Linked DNA regions of Homo sapiens: regions 2, 3, 4 and 5 are each linked to region 1. Evidence: promoter capture Hi-C in 16 types of primary human blood cells and fetal thymus (Javierre and others, 2016). All regions are on one chromosome and are shown on one strand. Each heading gives the region's core, a stretch centred on a gene start or on the middle of the fragment in contact. The rest is flanking DNA. Distances are from core to core; before and after follow the strand shown.

What was found. Contacts are between HindIII fragments. The CHiCAGO score rates a contact against its expected background, and 5 or more counts as called.
Region 2: a fragment that was not itself captured here is called in contact with the fragment with the promoter of SEC23IP in region 1 in 1 of 17 cell types (non-activated CD4 T cells); the score reaches 6.6 in non-activated CD4 T cells.
Region 3: a contact is called between a fragment that was not itself captured here and the fragment with the promoter of SEC23IP in region 1, in 7 of 17 cell types (naive CD4 T cells, activated CD4 T cells, fetal thymus and 4 more). The highest score is 8.1, in naive CD4 T cells.
Region 4: a contact is called between a fragment that was not itself captured here and the fragment with the promoter of SEC23IP in region 1, in 3 of 17 cell types (naive B cells, naive CD8 T cells and total CD8 T cells). The highest score is 5.9, in naive B cells.
Region 5: a contact is called between a fragment that was not itself captured here and the fragment with the promoter of SEC23IP in region 1, in 1 of 17 cell types (activated CD4 T cells). The highest score is 5.4, in activated CD4 T cells.

What each region holds. Positions count from the first base shown.
Region 1 is chr10:119,890,058-119,894,274 of GRCh38, reverse strand. It overlaps SEC23IP (SEC23 interacting protein), which reads right to left and starts at 1,545. Exons shown (of 19, transcript NM_007190.4): 1 at 1,330-1,545. The coding sequence starts at 1,492. RefSeq lists enhancers at 1,297-1,807, 1,808-2,318, 2,319-2,830. The HindIII fragment of the contact is 6,362 bases long and covers 1-3,573 here.
Region 2 is chr10:119,165,981-119,170,153 of GRCh38, reverse strand. It overlaps PRDX3 (peroxiredoxin 3), which reads left to right. Exons shown (of 7, transcript NM_006793.5): 6 at 812-977; 7 at 1,621-2,434. The coding sequence ends at 1,674. Among named protein-coding and RNA genes, the nearest start is that of SFXN4, 2.4 kb to the right of the region's middle. The HindIII fragment of the contact is 428 bases long and covers 1,608-2,035 here.
Region 3 is chr10:119,040,628-119,044,732 of GRCh38, reverse strand. It overlaps EIF3A (eukaryotic translation initiation factor 3 subunit A), which reads left to right. Exons shown (of 22, transcript NM_003750.4): 18 at 591-679; 19 at 1,961-2,739. Among named protein-coding and RNA genes, the nearest start is that of NANOS1, 13 kb to the right of the region's middle. The HindIII fragment of the contact is 5,604 bases long and covers 1-4,105 here.
Region 4 is chr10:119,099,561-119,103,846 of GRCh38, reverse strand. No RefSeq gene overlaps it. Among named protein-coding and RNA genes, the nearest start is that of DENND10, 2.4 kb to the left of the region's middle. The HindIII fragment of the contact is 268 bases long and covers 2,756-3,023 here.
Region 5 is chr10:119,011,570-119,015,342 of GRCh38, reverse strand. All of the region lies in intron 2 of LINC03036 (long intergenic non-protein coding RNA 3036), which reads left to right. Among named protein-coding and RNA genes, the nearest start is that of LINC03036, 16 kb to the left of the region's middle. The HindIII fragment of the contact is 3,933 bases long and covers 332-3,773 here.

The DNA of each region.
Region 1 (4,217 bases), core at 296-2,795:
ATGTACTAGGCCCTAAATAAGATCCTGGAGATAAAAAGGCAATTAGGTCATAGCTGCTGAAGAAGACTGCAGTCCAAATGGAGAGGCAGGTGTGTTTATTTCACAAACATTAAATCACACTGTCTGGCACGCACTATACTTAGCGCTTTGCAAAAATTAAAGCATTTCTAATTACAATTCTGTGAGGCTACACATACATAGAAACTGAAGCACAGAGAGGTAAAGTAAAATGCCTACAGTCACACAGCAAGTTACTGGCAGGGCAAGGACTGGAATACAGACAGTCTGTGCTCTTAAACACTATGCTCTGGGCAATGCTACATAATCATCAAAAAGCAATCTCCCTGGACAATAATACAAATATGAAAAAAGAGCTAGGAGTGCACATAGGAGTGGGGGCCTAAGAGAACAAGAAACAGCTTCTTGGAAGAAGTGATGTATTGTCTTGAAAGATGAGGAATGGGTGGGGGGTTAAACCTGTAATCCCAGCACTTTGGGAGGCCAGGGCAGGCGGATCACTTGAGGTCAGGAGATTGAGACCATCCTGGCCAACATGGTGGAACCCTGTCTCTACTACAAATACAAAAATTAGCCAGGCATGGTGGCAGACGCCTGTAGTCCCAGCTACTCGGGAGGCTGAGGCAGGAGAATCACTTGAACCTGGAAGGTGGAGGCTGCAGTGAGCCGAGATCGCGCCACTGCATTCCAGCCTGGGCGACAGAGCAAGACTCCGTCTCAAAAAAAAAAAAAAAAAAAAAAAGATAAGGAATGCATTGTATATGTCTACTTCACAAATATTACAGGCTTCTAGAAGAGGGGCACAGTCCATCTTATAAGATATCTTACTGTAACCTAGAAGATATTGTACTGTATCACAACAATCTCCTAGTAGGAGACAGTGTACCGTATCCTAGGAGAGGGGCACAGTCCATCCTAGGAGGTATCTTACCGTATCCTAGGAGTCTCCTAGTGGGAGACAGACTACTGTACCCTAGGAGAGGGCCACTGTTTAATTTATTTGCATTTCCTGCCAGCACCTGGCGTACCAACAACGGGTATTCAGCAAAGATTTGCGGAATGCCAGGGTACGAATGAATGTCCAGCACTCTGGACAACTCGGAACAGGGGGTTTCCGTGAAGAGCAAGTCTCATCACCTGCCACCTCCAAGATCCCAAAGCCCCCGACCCACTCAAACCTGGCCAGTAATGATCCTGGCAAGCTATCCAGAGGGTAGCTCGAGGCAGAAGGAAAAACTCCCGTCTGACCTTTGTCATTGCACGTCCCCCGCCCGCCTCCCACCACACACGGGGCCGCCCTCCCCTTATTACCTCCCGGTAAGAGCAGGGAGGCCGGAGAAGCGGAGGCCTGGGTGACTGGGATGAAGGGCACATTGAAGCTGAACTCCGTGGCCGAGGAGGAGAAAAGTAAGTTAGTGCCCGATGAGGAAGTGGAGGCGCCGCCGCTGCCACCGTTAGGTTTTCTCTCGGCCATGGCTGCGGCCCACCGTCCGATACACGTCTCCGGGTACCCGGTACCACACCACTGACCGGAAACCGATCACGCTCCTGGCCAGCGCACTTCCGCACTTGCGCACAGGAGCCGAAATTACGGGTAGCTAGTCAGCCGCCCTCTCCCTTCCCCTACACGGCGACGCCAGATATCAACATGGCGACACTGTCTTCACGCCCGCGTCTAGCACGTGACACCCTCGGAGGCGGAGGCCGGGCGGGAGGATGGGGACGTGGTCCCCGCAGGTTCTGGATAGACGTGCGAATTGAGACGCAATTGACCCTGAAAGTCACAGGTTGTGGCGGGTATCTATGGGCTTCCTAAAGGTACCGTCAGGATGGCTCTCCTGACAAAGATTTTGGAGGAACAGCGGAATCCTGCTGGACGCTACCGGAAGGAGGAAGGGAGGAAGAGCGTTGTGCGGGAATGGGAATTCGCATGCTAGGCGGAACCAAACACCCTCTCCAAAACCCACTTGTCTTTCTGGATGGAACCGAACATTGTGGTTGACCCAGAAATAGAAGTGGTAAAACATTTTTTAAGTGTTTAATCCATAGGGAGAAAAAAATATTTCGTTTTATTTTTGTTGTTTTTTGTTTTGCATTTGTTTTTTGTTTTTTTGGTTGGTTTTGTTTTTTGTTTTGAGACAAGTCTGCTGTGTCGCCCAGGCTGGAGTGCAGCGGTGCAGTCTGGGCTCATTGCAATCTCCGCCTCCCGGGTTCAAGCGATTCTCCTGCCTCAGCCTCCGAGTAGCTGGGACTACAGGCGTCCGCCACCACGCCTGGCTAATTTTTTGTATTTTTAGTAAAGACGAGGTTTCACCGGGTTGGCCAGGATGGTCTCAATCTCCTGACCTCGTGATCTGCCCGCCTTGGCCTCCCAAACTGCTGGGATTATAGGCATGAACCACCACGCCTGGCCAAAAAAAATATTTAAAAGAGAAATCAAACCAGACGCCATGGCGCAGGCCTGCAATCCCAGCACTTTGTGAGGCAGAGCGGGAGGATAGCTTGAGCCCAGAAGGTTGAGACCAACCTGGCCAACATGGTGAAACCCCGTCTCTACTAAAAATACAAAAATTAGCCGGGCTTGGTGGCATAGCACCTATATTGCCAGCTACTCAGGAGGCTGAGGCGGGAATATTGCTTGAGGCCAAATTAACCCTGATCTTGCCACTCACTGTGCAGCGAGACCCTGTCTCCTTAAAAAAAAAAAAAAGAAAAAAAAAGAAACCAGGGCATTGAAATTAGAGATCTGACATTTTAGATAGCTTTCTATATCCACAGTAAGCTGACTTACTTCAATCCAGGAGGTACTGTGGATAACTTGGACATAATTGTCATCTTTCATAGTTAGAGATTTTGAAGGAAAATATAACTTAAGCCATATTTCAGCTTCTTGGAGGTTGGGAGAGGAGATACCAAAAGAACGCTCAAAATAATGAAACTCTGCTCAGCTGTTTACACATATATAGAACCTAAGTTTATTAATTCAATAACGATTTCATGTGCTTACTGTCAAGAAAAATTTTTTAAGTGGGACACTCGTTAAAGCAGTAAATTAGATTTTATTTAATGAAAACTATTGCTAGGGAATTGGGTCCAGCATGAACTGAACACAACTTTGCTGAAACAAAAATTTGGAGGCTTTTTAGAGGCTGTGGTGTGCTAAGGGAAAGGTGCTGAGGAGTGTGAAGGGTTGGTTCGTCCTGCAACTAGGCCATCTGGGTGTGTTAATCCATGCTTATCCAGAGGAGACATAATTTTTCTGTCTTCATGACAAGCAGTGGTGTAAGAGAGCAAGGTAGCCACAGGGACTGGGAATGAGAATGAGAACCACCTCCTTGAAGGCTTGCAATTCAAGAGACAAACCCCCAGGTCCTTGAGAAGACAGTTCTCAGTGGTCATGTGTCCGGAGTTGGTTCCTTCCGGTGGGTTCTTGGCCTCACTGACTTCAAGAATGAAGCCGCGGACCTTTGTGGTGAGTGTTACAGCTCTTCAAGGTGGCACAGACCCAGAGTGAGCAGCAGCAAGATTTATTGTGAAGAGCGAAAGAACAAAGCTTCCGTAGCGTGGAAGGGGACCTGACTGGGTTGCTGCTGCTGGCTCGGGTGGCCAGCTTTTATTTATTTATTTGTCACTGCCCTCATCCTGCTGCTTGGTCCATTTTACAGAGCGCTGATTGGTCCATTGTAAAGAATGCTGATTGGTGCATTTACAATCCTTTAGCTAGACACAGAGTGTTGATTGGTGCATTTTTACAGAGTGCTGATTGGTGCATTTACAATCTTCTAGCTAGACACAGAGCACTGATTGGTGTGTTTTTACAGAGTGCTGATTGGTGCATTTACAGTCCTTCAGCTAGACACAGAGCACTGATTGGTGCATTTACAATCCTCTAGCTAGACAGAAAAGTTCTCCAAGTCCCTACTCAACCCAGGAAGTCTAGCTGGCTTCACCTCTCAATCCCCCCTCTAAAGAGGACACCCCAAGAGCTGTTGGGAATTGGGCAATGACCTCTGTAGCTACTTCCTGCTGGATGGGTTGAAGAAGGAGCCCTGCAGTTGTAGTGTCCTCCAGAGGGGAACTCTTTATGCCAGTCAAAGGGCCAGCGGGTTGGTGCAGGGGTCCTCAGTAGAAGTTGTTAGTTGAGCTCATTGGGGTTCCATTTGTAAGACCATCTGTAGCTTGATGGCCTCAATCCTAGA
Region 2 (4,173 bases), core at 572-3,071, 720 kb after region 1:
GACACAGTGACACACACCTATAGTCACGCTACTTGGGAGTCTGAGGTGGGAGGATCAGTTGAGCCAGAAGTTCGAGGCTGCAGCCTGCTGTGATCACACCTGAGAAGAGCACTGCACTCCAGCGTGGGCAATACAGTGAGACCCTATATTTAAACCAAACAACCAAAAAAACTTCTAGGCTAAACATATCTGCATCTGTCACAGTAACACCAACACAGAAGATAAACACAGACCACTGTGGTAGCGTGGTTCATCTCATTACATGCTGCTACATGATTAAAAGTGATGGGCATGGTTTTCTGTTTTGCATAGACTTAGAGCCTGTACATTCTTTCTATGAAGATTTTTCCCGTGGGATTTCCCCCCATTTACCCAATAATTCATTCATAATAAACAGTTGTTGAACCTAGATAAAATACACCTCTGTCTCTTCCCATTTGCCTATAAGTTTCTTGCCAAGATGTGATACAGCAGCTCAAAGAATGCTTGCCAAGTCACTAATAGTCTTTGCTCTCTCTAGTTCAGTGACTTTCCGATACTGTGTAACATTCAGGGCACTATGTGAACTTGTAAGTGTGACCATACTGCATGTTTTATGGTGACCTGGTCCAGTACTGCCTTTGTTAAAGCATCTGTCATCAGTAAGAGATGATAAGTTTTTTGCACAACAGTGAAAACCCCACCTTTAAGCATATGATTACGCTTAATAAATATTTTATTAAAAGGAGAATTAAAGACCTAAAAGGGAAGAAGTTAGACTGTTCTAGTTCTGGTACTGTTGAGGCACTGATGAGGATAAATGATCATGCAGAGGTCTCTTCATAATTGACCCCAATGGAGTCATCAAGCATTTGAGCGTCAACGATCTCCCAGTGGGCCGAAGCGTGGAAGAAACCCTCCGCTTGGTGAAGGCGTTCCAGTATGTAGAAACACATGGAGAAGTCTGCCCAGCGAACTGGACACCGGATTCTCCTACGGTAGGTTTTTTTCCCCAAAAGCAGTGAGGTCCATGTTCTCTCAGCCTCGAGAGCTATTGACCTGAAATATCCACAAAAGGGAGCCCACTCTTGAAGCAAGCGTGCAGATGATATGCAAATGGGTGAAGCTGCTGTGGGGTAGAGGGGGTGGGGTGGGGAGCCAGGAACCAATTATCAGAGACAGGCAGGCCTTTTTTTTTTTTTTTGAGACGGAGTCTTGCTCTCGCCCAGGCTGGAGTGCAGTGGCGCTCTCTCAGCTCACTGCAAGCTCCGCCTCCTGGGTTCACGCCATTGTCCTGCCTCAGCCTCCTGAGTAGCTGGGACTACAGGGCGCCCACCACCACGGCTAATTTTTTGAATTTTAGTAGAGACGGGGTTTCACCGTGTTAGCCAGGATGGTCTGGATCTCCTGACCTCGTGATCCACCCGCCTTGGCCTCCCAAAGTGCTGGGATTACCGGCGTGAGCCACCGTGCCCGGCCTAGAGACAGGCAGGCCTTAATGAAACTTTCATCTTTATGTTTTAAAGGAAATCTTTAAAAGTTTAAAGAACTTTAGGTTAAAAATTGGGAGATTGCCACTCACTTTTGGGACTATTATTATGGTAAAGTCACAGTTACCTAATTAAGCTTTTGTATTTTCAGATCAAGCCAAGTCCAGCTGCTTCCAAAGAGTACTTTCAGAAGGTAAATCAGTAGATCACCCATGTGTATCTGCACCTTCTCAACTGAGAGAAGAACCACAGTTGAAACCTGCTTTTATCATTTTCAAGATGGTTATTTGTAGAAGGCAAGGAACCAATTATGCTTGTATTCATAAGTATTACTCTAAATGTTTTGTTTTTGTAATTCTGGCTAAGACCTTTTAAACATGGTTAGTTGCTAGTACAAGGAATCCTTTATTGGTAACATCTTGGTGGCTGGCTAGCTAGTTTCTACAGAACATAATTTGCCTCTATAGAAGGCTATTCTTAGATCATGTCTCAATGGAAACACTCTTCTTTCTTAGCCTTACTTGAATCTTGCCTATAATAAAGTAGAGCAACACACATTGAAAGCTTCTGATCAACGGTCCTGAAATTTTCATCTTGAATGTCTTTGTATTAAACTGAATTTTCTTTTAAGCTAACAAAGATCATAATTTTCAATGATTAGCCGTGTAACTCCTGCAATGAATGTTTATGTGATTGAAGCAAATGTGAATCGTATTATTTTAAAAAGTGGCAGAGTGACTTAACTGATCATGCATGATCCCTCATCCCTGAAATTGAGTTTATGTAGTCATTTTACTTATTTTATTCATTAGCTAACTTTGTCTATGTATATTTCTAGATATTGATTAGTGTAATCGATTATAAAGGATATTTATCAAATCCAGGGATTGCATTTTGAAATTATAATTATTTTCTTTGCTGAAGTATTCATTGTAAAACATACAAAATAAACATATTTTAAAACATTTGCATTTTACCACCAGTAACTGTTGGATCAGCTTATTTTGGGCTCTCCTTTCCTTCTCAGATTATCAACAAACATTTATTGAGCATTTACCTCAGGGGCCACAAAGAGAATAAGATGCTGGTTCCGCACTCAAGGAACTCGGTTTAGGGGCAAGACAGATAGGGAAACATTTTCTCGTTGTTTCAGTAAATCCTTGAGTGCCTACCCCGCACCAGGTGCTGTTTTCCAGGCACAAGAGCGAACAACGGACAAACCCCTGCTTTTAAGCTCTTACATTCTAGAGGGGAAACACCTCATACATGTAGTAAAAGTAGAGTGTTTGGAAGGAAAATAATGTGGAGTGAAACTGCTGAAGCGGAGTTGTAGGTGTTCTAGATGGGGTTGTCAAGGAAGGCCTTAAGGGAGAGCCTCTCTGGATCAATTTTCTCATTGTAAAATGAGGACAATAATTGTACTTATCTCAGGGTTTTGATGAGCATCGAGGGAGAGAAAACGCGTAGAAAGTGAGAGTATTACGGGGATAAGAGACTTCTAGGCAGAGGGCAGGGAAAACACAAAGGCCGTGAGGCAAGAGTGGGCTCAGAGCGGATGCAGATTTACTAGGAGGCCGGTGACTATGGCTGTGGTGGGGGTCCCAGAGTGCCTTTTGGCCAGGCCAAGGACTTTAGGTTCTGTTCTGGGGTGGGGAATGTCAGGAAGGATTTGAAAAGAAGAGTGACATCAACTTGTTCTAAGAGAATCACTCTGGCTCCTTTGTTAAGACGACATAGCAGTCCAAAGTGGGGAAGCAGGCCAGCGGGCTGGCTTTGTGACATCCTGGAGGGTAGAGACAACAGAATAGAACAGCACGCTACATACTGCACTGGTGCTTAGATGGATTTCTGCGGCATAAGGGTAGAAGTGGAGGGGGCACCTTACTCAACTCGGAGGGTCAGGGAAGGCTTCCTGGAAGAGGAGATAAACCCCTGGAGGTTAAGAAAAGTGAGCTAGGCAAACTGAGCAAATACAGAAGCAGAGTCATACAGGCCTGAAGGACGCCATGAGCCAATTTCCTGTTCCTGGAGGCGCAGGGCAAGGGAAGGAATTGGCCCGCTGGAGGTTAATGGCCAATACTGAGCACTTCTGAGGGCTCAGTGCTGTGTTAGGGATGTTTTATCTCCTTTGATCAGAAACAAAACCCTGAGATAGGTACAATTGTTATCCTCATTTTGCGGATGGGAAAATAGACTTCGAGATACTGACTTGGCGAGGGTCACACAACTAGATGATGTGCTGGGTCCCCCAGTCCTGGACTCCGGAGGCCCCCTGAACGACCTAGGCACACTTGTGGCTTCCGTGAATTTAAGTGCACACAGCCCCCGCCTGGCCCTGTGCTGGGGAAGGGCAGGTGGGAGGAGGAAGGGAAGGCAGGTTTTTCTTTACAAATGGTACCTATTTGGTAGTCAACAAAAGGAACTGGATTTGCCCCAACACTGGAAGAAAAAAAAAAACAACCTGTTGGGCTGAGGGATAGTGCACTGTGCCCAGGGCCCTATACTTGGTTTGATGCTCTGGTGTTACTCTCTTGAAATTCTCAGTAACATGAATAAGGGGCACCGCATTTGACATTTTCCCTGGGCTGAGACCATGATGCAGCCGGCCTGACTGCGCAACACCATGCACACTGGAATTCGTGGGCCATCGGAGGGATTTTCGAGGGTAATGACCAGGGGTAGGGCGCGGCAGAAGCGCAGGGTG
Region 3 (4,105 bases), core at 779-3,278, 850 kb after region 1:
GGGACTACAGGCGCCTGCCACCACGCCTGGCTAATTTTTTGTATTTTTAGTAGAGACAGGGTTTCACCGTGTTAGCCAGGATGGTCTTGATCTCCTGACCTCGTGATCCACCTGCCTCGGCCTTCCAAACTGCTGGGATTACAGGCGTGAGCCACCGCGCCCGGCCCATCAGAGTACTTTGAATAGAGAAGTACTGTTAATTTAACCACCCCCATTAGACATTAAATAAAATGTCTCCACCTTTCTTTGCTTCGTAGGCACTGTGATGTCCATTTCAGGGCATGTGGCTTTTTTCACATTCTTCAAAGGGGATTTCTAGGTTGAAGGAAATCTGTAGAGGTGTATGTTCCCAGGTTGCTTTCCAGCACAGTGTTATATCGGTTTGTAAGGCCACCTACAATATATGAGACTACCAGTTTCCCTGTAGCGTCAGTCTGATCTCAGATTAAAAAATAAATGAAATTTTAAAACTTGCTTATTTAAGGGCTTCATATTGTTATAAGTACAAAAAATATTTGAATGGTAATACCAGTAGTTGTAATAGTAAATGGTTACCAATGTAATGCTTCTTTTTCACTTTGTCAATGGAGGACTCTCGTTGGGGAGATAGAGATTCAGAAGGCACCTGGAGAAAAGGACCTGAAGCAGATTCTGAGTGGAGAAGAGGCCCGCCAGAGAAGTAAGTAGAGTTGAGGAAAATAATGCCGCTCCAGTTCCTGTTAATATCTTATCAGTGGTTTTAAAATTTGGTTCATTTTGTAGAGGCAGGGAAAGGAGAGCCATGAAGAATTGTGTGCATGTCTGATTGCGTGTGGGTTTGTATTTTGTTTTTTTGGGTCTGCTGCCCAGGCTGGGGTGCAGTGGCGCTATCTCGGCTCCCTGCAACCTCTGCCTCCTGGGTTCAAGTGCCTCAGCCTCTCGAATAGCTGGGATTACAGGTGTGTGCCACCACACCTGGCTACTTTTTGTATTTTTAGTAGAGATGGGGTTTTGCCATGTTGCCCAAGCTGGCTTTGACCTCTTGACCTCAAGCGATCTGACTGTCTCAGCCTCTCAAATTGCTGGGATGACAGGCATGAGCCACTGCACTTGGCCTGTGTTGTTGTTTTTGTTGTTGTTGTTGTTGTTTTGAGATGGCGTCTCACTCTGGAGTGCAGTGGCGCGATCTCGGCTCACTACAGCCTCAACCTCCCTGGGCTTAGGTGATCCTCCTGCCTCAGCCTCCTGAGTAGCTGGGACCACAGGTGCGCTCCACCATGCCTGGTTAATTTTGTTTGTTTGTTTCTTTGTTTTTGAGACAGAATCTAGCTCTGTCACCCAGGCTGGAGTGCAGTGGCGCGTTCTCGGCTCACTGCAGCCTCCGCCTCCTGGGTTGAAGCAATTCTTGTGCCTCCCAAGTAGCTGGGAGGCACTTGTAATCCTCCCAAGTAGGATTACAGACATGCACCACCACGCCTGGCTAATTTTTGCATTTTTAGTAGACCCGAGGTTTCACTATGTTGGCCAGGCTGGTCTTGAACTCCTGACCTCAAGAAATCTGCCTGCCTCGGCCTCCCAAAGTGCTGGGATTACAGGTGTGGGCCACTACGCCTGGTGAATTTTTATATTCTTTATAGTGATGGGGTTTTGACATGTTGCCCAGGCTAGTCTCAAACTCCTGGGCTCAAGCAATCCTCCCGCCTTGGCCTTCCAAAGTGCTGGGATTACAGGTGTGAGCGACTGTGCCCAGCCGCATGTCTTACAATTAAGTAGAGATGGGTTTTGCCAGGCCAGGCTGGTCTTGAACTCCTGACCTCAGGTGATCTGCCTGCCTCTGCTTCCCAGAGTGCTGGGATTAAAGGTGCGAGCCACTGCTCCGGCCCATACTGAAGTTTTTAAAAAGCATGTGAAAAAAAAAATCCCCAAAGGATCATATGCTTTTTTATTTTATATATTTTTAATTGTTCTTGTTGCTGTGTAGGGAGTGGAGACGTGGAGAAGGGCGAGATGAGGACAGGTCTCATAGAAGAGATGAAGAGCGGCCCCGGCGTCTGGGGGATGATGAAGATAGAGAGCCCTCTCTTAGACCAGACGATGATCGGGTTCCCCGGCGTGGCATGGATGATGACAGAGGCCCTAGACGTGGTCCTGAGGAAGATAGGTTCTCTCGTCGTGGGGCAGACGATGACCGGCCTTCCTGGCGTAACACAGATGATGACAGGCCTCCCAGACGAATTGCCGATGAAGACAGGGGAAACTGGCGTCATGCGGATGATGACAGACCACCTAGACGAGGACTGGATGAGGACAGAGGAAGCTGGCGAACAGCTGATGAGGACAGAGGACCAAGACGTGGGATGGATGATGACCGGGGGCCGAGGCGAGGAGGCGCTGATGATGAGCGATCATCCTGGCGTAATGCTGATGATGACCGGGGTCCCAGGCGAGGGTTGGATGATGATCGGGGTCCCAGGCGAGGCATGGATGATGACCGGGGTCCCAGGCGAGGCATGGATGATGACCGGGGTCCCAGGCGAGGCATGGATGATGACCGGGGTCCCAGGCGAGGGTTGGATGATGATCGAGGACCTTGGAGGAACGCCGATGATGACAGAATTCCCAGGCGTGGTGCAGAGGATGACAGGGGCCCTTGGAGAAACATGGATGATGATCGCCTTTCAAGACGTGCTGATGATGATCGGTTTCCCAGACGGGGTGATGACTCAAGACCTGGTCCTTGGAGACCATTAGTCAAGCCAGGTAAAATTCTATTTCCTAGAATATGCTTAAGTGTTCACCTGTAAAAGTGAAATTCTGATGGATAAATATCAGGGCTGTATTGTTATTTTCCAGATAAACTGGTCTTTCATCTTTCCTTCAGTATCATTTGCAGTGACTTCGCTGTCAAAAGTTTGCCTTCAGAATACCACCATCCAAAACATAAATAACCCAACCCCTCTCTTCTTTAGTGATGTGCTCTTTGTTTTCCTTCTGCTTCGATGACTGCTTCTTTGAAGGCTCTTCCTGTACTCATGCTTTCAGTATTGGTGTATTTTTCAGGTTTTACTGGGAACCAGCCTCCTTTTAAAAATAAATAATTGAAACCAAAATGTACTTTATATATTTATTTTTGCCAACTGAGAGATTATGCAAGGAGGAACTCATTTTACTTTACTTTTTTTGAGACAGGGTCTTGCTCTGTTGCACAGGCTGGAATGCAGTGGTGCAGTCATGGCTCACTGCAACCTTGACCTCCCGGACCCTAGGGAGCCTCCCACTTCAGCCTTCTGAGTAGCTAGGACTACAGGCGCATGCCACCACACCCTGCTAATATTTTATTTTTTGGAGAGACGGGGTTTCGCTATGTTGCCCAGGCTGGTCTCAAACTCCTGGGCCCAAGTTATCCTTCTGCCTCTCCCTCCCAAAGTGAAGTGCTGGGATAACGGGTGTGAGGCGCTGCGCCCAGCCTCATTTTTTTTCTTAGTCCTGGGCCTGCTTATTGTTTCACACTTTATTATTCGTGAGCAGTTGTATACATGTTTGTGACATGCGTCTATTACCATTTTTTTTCTTTTTGAGGTGGAGTCTTGCTCTGTCTCCCAGGCTGGAGTGCAGTGGTATGATCTCAGCTCACTGCAACCTCTGCCTCCCAGGTTCAAGCAATTCTCCTGCCTCAGCTTCCCAAGTAGCTGGGACTACAGGCACATGCCACCATGCATGGCTAATTTTTTTTTTTTTTTTTTTTTTTGGAGACGGAGTCTCGCTCTGTCATCTGGCTGGAGTGCAGTGGCGCGATCTCCCCTCACTGCAAGTTCTGCCTCCCAGGTTCATGCCCTTCTCCTGCCTCAGCCTCCTGAGTAGCTGGGACAACAGGTGCCTACCACTATGCCTGGCTAATTTTTTGTATTTTTAGTAGAGATGGGGTTTCACCATGGTAGCCAGGATGGTCTCGATCTCCTGACCTCTTGATCCGCCTGCCTCAGCCTCCCAAAGTGCTGGGATTACAGGCATGAGCCACCACGCCCGGCCATTTTTTTGTATTTTTAATAGAGATGGGGTTTCACCATGTTGGCCAGGCTGCTCTCGAACTCCTGACCTCAAGTGATCCACCCACCTCGGCCTCCCA
Region 4 (4,286 bases), core at 1,640-4,139, 790 kb after region 1:
GCTCCACTCGTCTTCTGCCCGTGGCCCTTCGCCCTTGGAAACCTCCTTGAGTCTCCGCAGCCTGCCTCAATTTCTCTAATCCAGCTGTTCATCCTTCTTCTTCTCAATCCACTCCAATCTTTCTTCCCGTCGTAGGCTTTCCTTGTTCTACCTCTGCCCTCTGGTCAAGCTCAAAAGAACAGGTCACCTTGTTCCTAAAAAGAGGCGTCCTGAGGATGGAGGAAGGGTCTCCATCCATTCCTTCATCCAGCCACCCCCAAAACAAAACAAAACAAAAATTGAGGGCCTAATAAGGCACTGGGGATACCTTATAGGGCTGAACAAGACAGAGCAGTCCACTGGGGAAGACAGACAATTGGCGAGTAGAATAAATAATCCAGGCCAGGTGAGGTGGCTCACGCCTCTGATCCCAACACGATGGGAGGCCAAGGCAGGAGCATCACTTGAGGTCAGGAGTTCGAGATCAGCCTTGGCAACATAGTGAGACCCATCTCTACAAAAAAAATTTAAAAATTAGCCAGGCATAGTGGCATGCACCTGTAGTCCCAGCTACTCTCAGGCTGAGGCAGGAAAATCATTTGAGCCCAGGATTTTGAGGCTGCAGTGAGCTGTGATCCTGCCACTCACTCCAGCCTGGGTGACAGAGTGAGACCCTGTCTCAAAAATAAATAAATAGATAAATAGATGACAGATAGATAGATAATAGTAAAAAAGCTCAGAATGATATGTGCCCTGGAGGCAACGATATGTGCCCTGGAGGCAGTGTGTTAGAGAGTGGAGGTGTGCTGCTCTAAAATGGGTGTCAAGAAAGGCTTCTCTGAGAAAGGGATATTTGAACTGAGATCTGAATGATAGTAACGACTCAGACATTGGAAGATTTGGCTCCAAGATTCCTCCTCTGGATCTACTGTCTGCCCCAACCCCAAGTCACACAGAGCTAATTAGGGAGGGTCCTTGGTGTCTGCAGGAATACAATCCCACCCTCATCTTTTTTTCTTTTTTCTTTTTTTTTTTTTTTTTTTGAGATGGAGTCTTGTTCAGTTGCCCGGCCTGGAGTGCAATAGCGCGATCTCGGCTCACTGCAACCTCCGCCTCTCGGTTTTAAGGGATTCTCCTGCCTCAGCCTCCTGCGTAGCTGGGATTACAGGCGTGAGCCACTGCGCCTGTTTTTTTCTTTTTTCTTTCTTTTTTTTTTGGAGACAGTTTCTCGCTATGTTGCCCAGGCTGCAATTTATACATTGGAGTATATTTAGGTGTGTATATGGCATTCCTGTTTCTCTCACTAAACTGAACCCCTGGAAGGCAGCACCCTGAACTACGTGCCCTTCTATTCTCTGGGCTTCCTGTTGTAGTATAACTGTTAATGTGTCTAGTTTTCACAGAAAAGAAGCAGGTGTTTAGAGGCTGAGGAGTGGGACACAGATGTGGAATCAGTTTGGAAGCCAACTAGAAACTTGCACTAGGTGGGGCACGGTGGCTCACGCCTGTAATCCTAGCACTTTGGGAGGCTGAGGTGGGTGGATCACGAGGTCAGGAGATTGAGACCAACCCGGCTAAAACGGTGAAACCCTGTCTCTACTAAAAATACAAAAAATTAGCCGGGCGTGGTGGCAGGTGCCTGTAGTCCCAGCTACTTGTGAGGCTGAGGCAGGAGAATGGCGTGAACCCGGGAGGCGGAGCTTGCAGTGAGCCGAGATCACGCCACTGCACTCCAGCCTGGGCGACAGAGCGAGACTCCATCTCAAAAACAAACAAACAAAAAATCACAAAAATTAGCTAGGCATGGTGGCAGGTGCCTGTAATCCCAGCTACTCAGGAAGCTGAGGCAGACTGGCTTGAACCCAAGAGAGGACGGTTGCAGTGAGCCAAGATCGCGCCACTGCATTCCAGCCTGGGCGACAGAGTGAGACTCCATCTCAGAAAAAAAAAGAAAAGAAATGAGGATGAAGACGATGATGAACAGATAATTAAACAAAGGAGAGGGAGATGATAGTGGGTGCAGGGAGGGGAAAGATAATGAGGGGTGTGTCCAGGCTCCAGTGAGTGGGATGATACCTGGAATTGACACCTCCTTCCCTCCTGTTTCTCCACAAGTGCTGTCTTACCTGCCAGACAGGTACACCAGAGTGAAGGGAAAAGGAATAGAGGGTGGAGAGAGCAGAGGCGACGCATCCCCAATCTTTAAAAGTAAGACTGACCTCTGCGCTGTCACAGACAGATGGAGCTGGGGTGTGGAAACAGACAACCTGAGTTCCAACCCCCTTGCCCATCTTAGCTGCGAAACCTCACACATGTTTCCTATCTTTTCTGTGCATGTTTTCTCAGTGATCAAATGGAGCTAACCATACTTTCCTCCGTGACTCTCCCAATAAAGATTTGAATCAGGGAAAATCTTTATGCTAGTTTTATTGATAAGAATAGCCTAATTTTATAGGTAAGAATATAAAGGGTCCCCAAGACCACCCCCCAAATTCAATGATTTGTTGGAAGGATTCTCAGGATTCAGCATATAGCTATACTCATGGCTATGATATACATTTTTATTTTTTTGAGACAGGGTCTCACTCTGTCACCCAGGCTGGAGTGCAGTGGCACGATCACGGCTCACTGCAGCTTTGATCCAGGCTCAAGCTATCCTCCCACCTCATCCTCCTGAGTAGCTGGGACTACAGGCAGGCACCACCATGCCTAGCTATTTTTTTTTTTTTTTTTTTGAGATGTGATCTCACCATATTGTGTAGGCTGATCTCAAGCTTCTGACCTCAAGCGATCTGCCCACCTCAGGCTCCAAAGTGCTGGGGTTACACATGTGAACCACCATCCCCAGCTCAGGGCTATGATTTATTACAGCCAGAGAATACAAAGCAAAATCAGCAAAGGGAAAAGGCACATGGGGTGATGTCTGGAGGAAACCAGGGCCAAGTTCCCAAGAGTTATTTCCTGGTAGAGTCACACAGGACACACCTAATTCCTCCAGCAACAAGTTGTGGCAATACTTGTGATATTTATCAACCAGGGAAGCTTGTTAGAACTCAGTCACCAAGTAACTCAGTTTTTACTGGGGGCCAGTCACATAGGTACCCTCTGCCTAGCTCATACCAGATTTCCAGACTCTCATGAACCACATTGTATGTACAAATAGTTCAGGCATAGTCTGTCACTCTGATCAGTTTGATCAGTTCTAGAAATGCTGGGAACACTGCCGAAGTCCAAGTTTCCAGGCACAGCCAAGGGCCAAACTGGCCAGCAGACTTTCTATGGATATCACCCTCAGGCCTGTCGTGTGAATTCTTTTTTGCACAGCCTGCTCACTCCTTGCTCTGCAGAAAAAGAGTAAGTTACTGGCACTGAAGCAGATTTGGAAAGTGCCTAAACTGTCTGGCCACATGGACAAGTGCACAAGGGACCCCAGCATCTTCCAGGTGTTCCAATCCCAGGTTCCTATGAGTCAAATATGGTTCTTTTTCATCTTTGTTTCTGTAATTGGATTCCATCATAGATTGGGCATGTGTCAGCCAAGGGAGCCATTAGGGTGGCAGTTTTTTTTTGTTGTTGTTGTTTTGTTTGTTTGTTTGTTTTGATGGAGTCTTGCTCTGTCGCAATGCAGTGATGCAATCTCAGCTCACTGCAACTTCCGCCTCCTGGGTTCAAGCAATTCTCCTGTCTCAGCCTCCTGAGTAGCTGGGACTACAGGCGCAGGCCACCACACCCGGCTAATTTTTGTATTTTTAGTAGAGACAGGGTTTCACCATATTGGTCAGACTGGTCTCGAACTCCTGACCTCAGGTGATCCACCCACCTCAGCCTCCCAAAGTGCTGGGATTACAGGTGTGAGCTACTGTGCCCAGCCTTTTTTTTTTTCTGAGACGGAGTCTTGCTCTGTCACCCAGGCTGGAGTGCAGTGGTGTGATCTCCACTAACTGCAACCTCCGCCTCCCAGGCTCAAGCAATTCTCCTGCCTCAGCCTCCCAAGTAGCTGGGACTACAGGTGTGTGCCACCAAGCCTGGTTAATTTTTTTTTATTTTTAGTAGAGATGGGGTTTCACCATGTTGGCCAGGCTAGTCTGAAACTCTTGGCCTCAAGTGATCCATCCGCCTTGGCCTCCCAAAGTGCTGGGATTACAGGTGTGATCCACCACGCCTGGCCAAGCTCTTTTAATTTAAGGGATTCAGTCTCACTTGGGAACTGGAAGGCGATTCAGTCAACTGCTCTGACACTCCGTCCTGACTTCTAGCATATGTGAGGCTTCCAGAACATTCCCAAGATGAAGTCATCCTCCTTGTGT
Region 5 (3,773 bases), core at 1,049-3,548, 880 kb after region 1:
CAAGACCTTTATGGAGGCAATTATAAACCTCCATTGAAAGAGATTAAAGAAAACTAAACTGGGGATATGCCATGTTTGTGTGTTAGAAAACTCACTATTATAAGGTTGTCAGTTCTCCCAAATACACCTATTTAGATTGAATGTAATTCAAATCAAAATCCTCACTTTTTGTGTGTTTATGTGTGTGTGTGTCAAATGTGACAAGCCAATTCTAAAGTTTATATGGAAAAACAAAGACCAAGAAAGTGAACACACTCTTGAAGAAAAAGAACTAGATGGGCAGGGAAGGGATGGGGCTTGCCATGCCAAAGATAAAAATTATTCTAAAGCTTTAATAATTCAGATGCTATTGACCACCCATAGATTGGTTGCCTATGGACCAGCATTAAAAGTGCAGAAGCAGACCCACTCATATAAAGAAACTTGTTCTGTGGTGGGAACTTGATCTATGCTGGACTTTACAATAGACAGTGTTTGGTAATTGAGAATCCTTACGGAAAAAAAAATCAGACTTCTATATCACATTTTAGATAAGAATCAATTTCAGGTAGATTAAAGACTTAGCTGTGAAGGCAAAACTCTAGCTTTTAGAAGACAATATGGGACAATTCCTATGATTTCAAGGCAAGGAAGTATTTCTTAAACAAGGCAAACACACAAAATAACCCACTAACAATAAAGAGAAGAATTAATAAATGTTACTTAATTAAAATGAAGAACTTCTGTTTCTTAGAAGACACCACACAGTAAGTAAAAAGACAAGTCATGGCCAGGCGTGGTGGCCCACTCCTGTAATCCCAGCACTTTGGGAGGCCAAGGTGGGCGGATCACTTGAGGCCAGGAGTTAGTGACCAGCCTGGCCAACATGGTGAAACCCTGTCTCTACTACATATACAAAAATTAGCTGGGTGTGGTGGCACACACCTGTAGTCCCAGCTGCTTGGGAGGCTGAGGCACAAGAATCGCTTGAACCTGGGAGTTGGAGGTTGCAGTGAGCCGAGATCAGGCCACTGCACTCCAGCCTGGGTGACAGAGTGAGACTCCCTCTCAAAAAAAAAAAAAAAAGTGAGAGGAGCTGTTTGTAATACATGTCATTGACTAAGGTCCTAGTGCCCAGAAGATATAAAATAACTAAAAATTGATATGAGATATACACACAAATAGAAAAATTTGTGAAACGTGTGAAAAGGCACTTATAGCAGAAGAAATGTAAATGGATATTAAAAGGATAAACTAGATTATAATCGGGAATTCAAATTATAACTAAAATGAGATACCACTTTACACCATCAGATTGGCAAAATCAAATATTCTATCAATATCAGACATTGACAAGAATGTGGTATAACTGGAACTTATATATTGCTAGAGAGAATTAAATTGGTATAATCGATGTGGAAAACAACTTGGAAATATTTAGAAAAGTTGAAGGCAAAAATAATTTGTGGCCTAGCAGTCAGCCAGACAGATGCTCCTGAGGACCAGGAAACACGATTAAGAATGTTTACACACTACCTACCAAACTAAAGTGGTTGTAGTAAAAGAAACTGGAAAAACCAAGTGAGGACATGAAGAAACTGGAACTTTTTTTTTTTTGAGAAGGAGCTTTGCTCTTATTGCCTAGGCTGGCGTGCAATGGTGTGATCTCGGCTTACTGCAACCTCCGCCTTCCGGGTTCAAGCGATTCTCCTGCCTCAGCCTCTTGAGTAGCTGGGATTACAGGCATGTGCCACCATGCCCAGCTAATTTTGTATTTTTAGTAGAGATGGGGTTTCTCCATATTGGTCAGCCTGGTCTCAAACTCCCGACCTCAGATGATCCGCCCTCCTTGGCCTCCCAAAGTGCTGGGATTACAGGCATGAGTCATTATGCCCGACTTTTTTTTTCGAGACAAAAGTCTCCCTCTGTCTCCCAGGCTGGAGTGCAGTGGTGTGATCTCGGCTCACTGCAACCTCTGCCTCCCAGGCAGAGCAATTCTTCCTCAGCTTCCTGAGTAGCTGGGATTACAGGCACCTGCCATCCGGCCCAGCTAAATTTTGTATTTTTTGTAGAGATGGGGTTTTGCCATGTTGGACAGGCTGGTCTCAAACTCCTGACCTCATGATCTGCCTGCCTCGGCCTCCCAAAGTACTGGGATTATAGGAGTGAGCCACCACACCTGCTGGAAAGGCACATCTTATATGGTGGCAGGCAAAGCAAGAATAAGAGCCAAGCAAAAAGGGAAAGCCCTTACAAAACCATCAGATCTTACGAGATGTATTCACTACCACAAGAACAGTGGGGGAAACCGCCCCTATGATTCAATTATCTCCCACCGGGTCCCTCCCACAACACCTAGGAATTACGGGAACTACAATTCAAGATGAGATTTGGGTGGGGACACAGTCAAACCATATCAACTACTCAGAAATAAAAAGGAACAGACTATAGATACTGAAGGTTAAAAACATTATGCTCCGTGCAAGAAGCCAAACACAGAATACTACATATTATCTGATTACACTTGTAGAAAAGGCAGCACTGTAGAGACAGAAAGCATATCATCGGCTGCCTGGGCTATGGGTGGGTGGATAGGGAGGACTGCCTGCAAATAGGCATGAGGAAACTTCTGGGGGTGATGGAATGTTCTAAAACTAGGTGGTGGTGATGGCTACACAACTATATAATTTTTTGTTTGTTTGTTTCTGTTTTTAGGCAGGGTCTGGCTCTGTTGCCCAGGCTGGAGTGCAATGGTGTGATCTTAGCTCACTGCAACCTCTGCCTCCCTGGCTCAAGTCATCCTTCCACCTCAGACTCCCAAGTAACTGGGACTACAGGTGCACTACCATGCCTGACTAATTTTTGAATTTTTTGTAGAGATGGGGTTTCACCACATTGTCCAGGCTAGTCTTGAACTTCTGAGCTCAAGCAGTCCACCCGCCTCAGCCTCCCAAAGTGCTGGTATTACAGATGTGAGCCACTGTGCCCTGCCAAAGCTGTATATAGTCCAATTATAATGGGTACATTTTATAGTAATATAAATTATACCTCAATAAGGTTGTTAAAAGTGTTCACACTAACATTGTTCCTAATTGCCCCAAACTGGAAATAGCTCAAATATTCATCAGCAGAATGGATAAATACACTGTGGTATGTCTGTTCAACAGAACCCATGAGCAGTATTAATAAGCAAGTAATAAGCAGTCCTCCCACCTCAGCCTACTGAGTAGCTGGGACCACAGGTGCACACCACCAAGCCTGGCTAATTTTTTTGTGTTTTTGTGTAGAGATGGGGTTTTACCACATTGCCCAGGCTGGGCTCAAACAACCCACCAGCCTCCACCTCCCAAAGTGCTGGGACTACAGGCATGAGCCATCATGCCCAGCCAAATCCCTTAATAATAATAATAATAATAATAATAATTATTATTATTATTATTATTATTTTTTGAGACGGAGTCTTGCTCTGTTGCCCAAGGTGGAGTGCAGTGGTGCGATCTCGGCTCACTGCAAGCTCCACCTCCCGGGTTCACGCCATTCTCCTACCTCAGCCTCCCGAGTAGCTGGGACTACAGGCGCCCGCCATCACGCCTGGCTAATTTTTTGTATTTTTAGTAGAGATGGGGTTTCACCGTGTTAGCCAGGATGGTCTCGATCTCCTGACCTCATGGTCTGCCCGCCTCGGCCTCCCAAAGTGCTGGGATTACAGGTGTGAGCCACCACGCCCAGCCATCCCTTTATTATCACGGATATTGCTGATGACATTTCACAGCTGACTGGGCTCTGCAGTTGAG